Regions from separate parts of the Homo sapiens genome. Here region 1 is linked to region 2. The links are contacts of gene promoters, found by promoter capture Hi-C in blood cells and fetal thymus (Javierre and others, 2016). All regions are on one chromosome and are shown on one strand. The core of a region is centred on a gene start or on the middle of the fragment in contact, and the rest is flanking DNA. Distances in the headings are between cores, read along the strand shown.

Evidence for each region. Contacts are between HindIII fragments. The CHiCAGO score rates a contact against its expected background, and 5 or more counts as called.
Region 1: a contact is called between a fragment that was not itself captured here and the fragment with the promoter of ZNF561 in region 2, in 1 of 17 cell types (M0 macrophages). The highest score is 7.4, in M0 macrophages.

What each region holds. Positions count from the first base shown.
Region 1 is chr19:9,150,481-9,153,180 of GRCh38, reverse strand. All of the region lies in intron 1 of ZNF317 (zinc finger protein 317), which reads right to left. Among named protein-coding and RNA genes, the nearest start is that of ZNF317, 11 kb to the right of the region's middle. The HindIII fragment of the contact is 1,338 bases long and covers 754-2,091 here.
Region 2 is chr19:9,619,900-9,622,599 of GRCh38, reverse strand. It overlaps ZNF561 (zinc finger protein 561), which reads left to right and starts at 1,368. Exons shown (of 6, transcript NM_152289.3): 1 at 1,368-1,438. It overlaps ZNF561-AS1 (ZNF561 antisense RNA 1), which reads right to left and starts at 1,118. Exons shown (of 4, transcript NR_122038.1): 1 at 955-1,118. RefSeq lists enhancers at 1,039-1,458, 1,607-2,189. The HindIII fragment of the contact is 2,809 bases long and covers 1,016-2,700 here.

The sequences.
Region 1 (2,700 bases), core at 173-2,672, 470 kb after region 2:
CAAACAAACAAACAAACAAACAAACAAACAAAAACAACTACCTTGACACACTAAACCTAGGGAAAGCAAAAGTGAAGAAATAAAGATTAAAGCAGAGACAAATGAAATAGAGAATAGGAGAATTAATGAAAACAAAAGTTGGTTCTTTCAAAAAGATCAACAAAGGTGACAAAACTACAGCTAGAATTACTAACAAAAAAAGATGCAAGTAACTAAAATCATCAGTGGAAGTGGGACATTACTACCGACCTTACGGAAATTCAAAGGGCTGTAAGAGAATGCCATGAACAATTATGCACCAACACATTAGATCATCTACACTAGCAGTCCCCACCCAATTTGGCATCAGAGACTGGTGTCATGGAAGACAATTTTTCCATGGATGGTGAGGTGAGGGGGGATGGTTTTGGGATGACTTGAGTGCATTACATTTATTGTGCACTTTATTTCTATTATTATTACATTGTAATATATGGTAAAATAATTATACAACTCACCATAATATAGAATTAGTGGAAGCCCTGAGAGTGTTTTCCTGAAACTAGATGGTCCCATCTGGAGGTGATGGGAGACACTGACAGATCATCAGGCATTAGATTTTCATAAGGAGTGTGCAATCTAGATCCCTTGCATGTGCAGTGCACAATAGGGTCTGCGCCCCTATGAGAATCTAATGCTGCTGATGATCTGACAGGAGGTGGAGTTCAGGGGTAATGTGAGTGATGGGGAGCCGCTGTAAATACAGATGAAGCTTCACTCACTTGCCCTCCGCTCACCTCCTGCGGCAGGGCCTTGTTCCTAAAAGGCCAGGGACCGGTACCTGTCTGTGGCCCAGGGCTTGGGGATCAATGCTCTAGATGTATCAAATTCCTTGAAACATACCCAAACAGGCTCTAGAAGAAAAAGAAAATTGAGAGACCTATAACAAGAGACTGAGGCAGTCATCAAAAGCCATTAAATAAAAAGTCCAGGACCAGCTGGGCACGGTGGCTCACGCCTGTAATCCCAGCATTTTGGGAGGCCGAGGCGGGTGGATCAGGAGGTCAGGAGATCGAGACCATCCTGGCTAACACGGTAAAACCCCATCTCTACTAAAAATACAAAAAATTAGCCAGGCGTGGTGATGAGTGCCTGTAGTCCCAGCTACTCGGGAGGCTGAGGCAGGAGAATGGTGTGAACCTGGGAGGCGGAGCTTGCAGTGAGCCGAGATTGCGCCACTGCACTCCAGCCTGGGCGACAGAGCAAGACTCCGTCTCAAAAAAAAAAAAAAAAAGTCCAGGACCAAGGGGCTTCACTGGTGAACCCTACCAAACATTTAGAATTAACATCAAGGACATTATCAAGAAAGTGAATGAGACACAGAATGGTGGAAAATATTTGCAAATCATGTATGTGATAGGGATTTAATATCATTATAAACTCAACAACAAAGACAACCCAGTAAAAAAGTGGGCAGGAGACTTGAACAGAACAGACATTTCTCCAAATTTACAGAAATGAACTGTAAACACATGAAAAGATGATTAACAACATCAGTCATTAAGGAAATAACATCAAAACCACAATACATTGGTGAGGTATGGTGGCCCACACCTCGGGAGGGGATTTAATTTGCTTTGTATGAACATGCCTCCTCTCTCTGGCTTCCACCGCGACTCTCATGACAGCACTGATGTAAGAACCGTGACGCTGCTACTTTAACATCTGACTCAGATCAATAATCAATATTACCACTTTTAAACATTACCAGGGTTATAACAATCTTTTTCAACATCAATTAGTATTTCTGCTATTGGAATTGTTTTAGATATTCAGAAACATTTCAAAACAATAATATAGGAAGTGTGTTTTAACGTATAAACTCTGCCTTGGGGATTCATTATTCAACACCAAATTTGATCTTGGGCCAACTCAAAGATGCATGACGCTTTCATTCTTTTTACAAAGCCCTTTTCTAGTCATTGTGCCTTTGGGTTCTGACATTAAGTCACTGCTGAGGAAGGGGAGAGAGGGTGACAGAGGCTCAGTTCCTGAGGCACAGTATCTCCATCCTCACCTACCATTCATTCATTCATGCTCAACTAACAAGCTTCTGCAGGTCCCATTCCACCTTTCCCCACCAACATTAATGCCAATTCTACAAATAACGACATGTGTAGTGTTTACAAGGTATGAGACATTCTCCTGAGTCTTTCCAGGGCCACTCCTATTTAATCCTCACAACCTCCCGGAATTATTCTCAAGTACCCAGAGAATAAGGCACCAAGGGTCCGAGACACTTGGTCAAGGTCATAGGTGGAAGTTGTGAGCCCAGCTGACGTGACTGCGGAGCCACATCTTGTTGCCTCTCAAAGTGACCTATGTCACCTGTACTGTCCCCTATGTGGGAACTCCTTGACACTACATCTTGACCCTTCCTTTGCCTGACCTCCTGACACATCATCTTGCTCACTATGAATCTATCTCCCTCTTCCTGGGAATGCCACTGCTCTTGCAGCCATAGCCCACTCATCCCAGTCTGTGCTCACATCTCTGGTTGCTCTTTTGAAGACTCTGGCTTGAGATCCCTCCTCTGCCCAGCCCCTAAAGGTCAGGGTTCCCCTGGGCCCCTCTCCCCCATCTCCCACAGGTCCACATTGTGAAACACCCCCACCATTTGGAGGTGCTGACACCCAGGTTCTGATTGCACTTCTGTGAAGG
Region 2 (2,700 bases), core at 119-2,618:
TCCAGCCAGTGGAAACTGGACACAGCAGTAGGTTGGAAGCATCAGGTTATAAATGACCCTATCTCCTTTGTTTGGTGTACTCTCGTGGCAAAACTGCTGGTGAGTATACCGTTTCTGCAGGAAGTAAAAATGGCCTTGCTGAGTAAATTAAATTTATGTTCAAGTGCTAATTTCTTTATGGCACCAGGGAACAAGCATTTTGAACATGTATATTTATATATTTTTTATATATTTATATATTTATATGTATTTATACATATATGTTTATATATATATATATAGAGAGAGAGAGAGAGAGAGAGACAGGGTCTTGCTACTTTGCCCAGGCTGGTCTCAAACTCTTGGACTTGTAGAAAATGAAATAAATACAGGTTCCTCTTCAAAGGGACTTTCCTCCCAGTCTGATTGAAATAAATAGTAATCCCTCTTAGAAGCCAAATTTTCTCAAAGACCTGTGGTAATATTGTTAAATTCTGCCAGCCGTAATAAAGAAATCAATAGACTCTGTTTTTAGCTCCCACATTTTAGCCTAGATATTTGCCCTGGCATGCCTGAACTGGTCCAAGCAACTATTAGGTCATGGCCTATTCCTTTCCCTATTTAGAAGTGTTTTTGCCTCTCTCAACAGTCCACAAGTTACTTCCTCTCTTCCTTTGTTCTCCTCTGCCATTGCCTCTTTTGGGAAGTTCTAAGTTGCTAGCCAATCCAGTGAAGTACAGGAAGGTGAGGTCCCGTTCCAGCCAATGGAAGCTGGACACAGCAGAAGGATGGACACTTCAAGTTTAAAAAAACCCTGTCTCCTTTGTTAATGTGTGCTCTGGTGGCAAGACTGCCAGCCAGTGGCACCCATTCTGCAGAAAGTAAAACTAGCCTTGCTGAGATCCTTTGTCTCAGTGTTGATTTTGTGACACCAAGCGAGCACCCATTCCCAGCAGACTCAAGCTATTTACCTACCTTAGCCTCCCAAAGTGCAGGAATTACAGGCGTGAGCCACTGCGCTCGCCCGATAAAAGCTTTGGAGGAGCATCCCCCGGGGATGCGTCCCATCCCTCATCCCCGCCCTTCCAGCCCGACCGGCCACCTGAACCACCGGCTAGGCCGGGTCCCTCCTCTAAATCACCCCCCGAGTACGAGCCCCTCCCCTCGCCCACAGTTCCGTCTGGAGGCCCGGTTCTAACCTCACCTTTTTCTCTGGACCTAGTTCTGCATCCCCCTCCCTGAGCCAACCCCAGGCCCTTTCTGCACCCACCCGAGAGGAAACTAGAATTTCTGTGTTCTACCCGGTCCTACGTGGCTGAAACTGGAGCCCACGAGCCTCGCCCGGCCAGAGTGTTGAAGCGGAAGTGACGTCAGCGCACCACCGCCATCTTTTCCGGCGCTGGCTCCTCTCCGTCAGTGCGGTTTCGCCTTTATGGTGGTGGAGTCTGCCCAGGCTGTGGTGAGTTCCACCTCCTTGGCGGTCCCGGGGATAGCAGGGGGCGGCAAAGGAATGATTGCGCGCTGTCGCCTAGGAGCCTCTCAGATCCGCTTCACTTCACTCGCTTCTCCAGGGACTATCAGTCCTCCCTGTGCGTCCAGTTCGGAGAGGCTGCGCGCTCTCTCGGCTCACTGCAACCTCTGCAACCTCTGCCTCCAGGGTCAAGCAGTTCTCCTGCCTCAGCCTTCCGAGTACCTGGGATTACAGGCAAGTGCCACCACGCCCGGCTACTTTTTCTATCTTTAGTAGAGATGGTTTTGCCATGTTGGCCAGGCTGGTCTTGAACTCCTGACCTTAGGTGATCTGTCTGCCTCGGTCCCCCAAAGTGCTGGGATTATAGGTGTGAGCCACTGCACCCGGCCGACTTTTGAAAATTTTAGATTTTGTTCTTAAGTCATCTTAGGTACGTAATGAAGTTATCAATAACACACGTGGCTGGTGACTACTGAATTGTTCTGTGCAGGTCTGCACTGTCTTCTGGTCATATGGCGGGGGGGTAACACCATATACAGGAGATCAGGCTCTAGGGACAAGTATCAGACCGACTACTAGGGTTGTTTGAGTGTAGGTTTTTTTCAGTATTAAATAGAAGTAATGGGCCAGGCATCGTGGCTTATGCTTATTATCCCAGCACTTTGGGAGGCCAAGTCAGGAGGATTGTTTGAGCCCAGGAGTTTGAGACTAGCCTAGGCAATCTGGTGAAAACTTGTCTCTACTAAAACTACAAAAAATTAGCCGGACCCAGTGGTGTGCACCTGTAGTCCCAGCTAGTTGGGGGGCTGAAGTGGGAGAATCACTTAAGGCCAGGAGTTCAAGACCAGCCTGGCCAATATGGCGAAACTGCGTCTCTACTAAAAATGCAAAAATTAGCCAGGCATGGTAGTGCATACCTGAAATCCCAGCTACTCGGGAGGCTGAGGCCTGATAATCGCTTGCACCTGGGAGGCAGAGGTTGCAATGAGTTGAGATCATGCCACTGCATTCCAGCCTGGGCAACAGAGTGAGACTCTGTCTCAAAATAATAATAATAATAATGAGTGATGATACGCACCTATGGTCCCAGCTATTCAGGAGGCTGAAGTGGGAGGATCACTTGAGCCCGGGAAGTCTAGGCTACAGAGAGTTGTGTTAGTGCCATTGGATTTCAACCTGGGCAACAGAGTGAGACCCTGTCTCGATAGATAGATAGATAGATAGATAGGATAGATATAGATAGATAGATA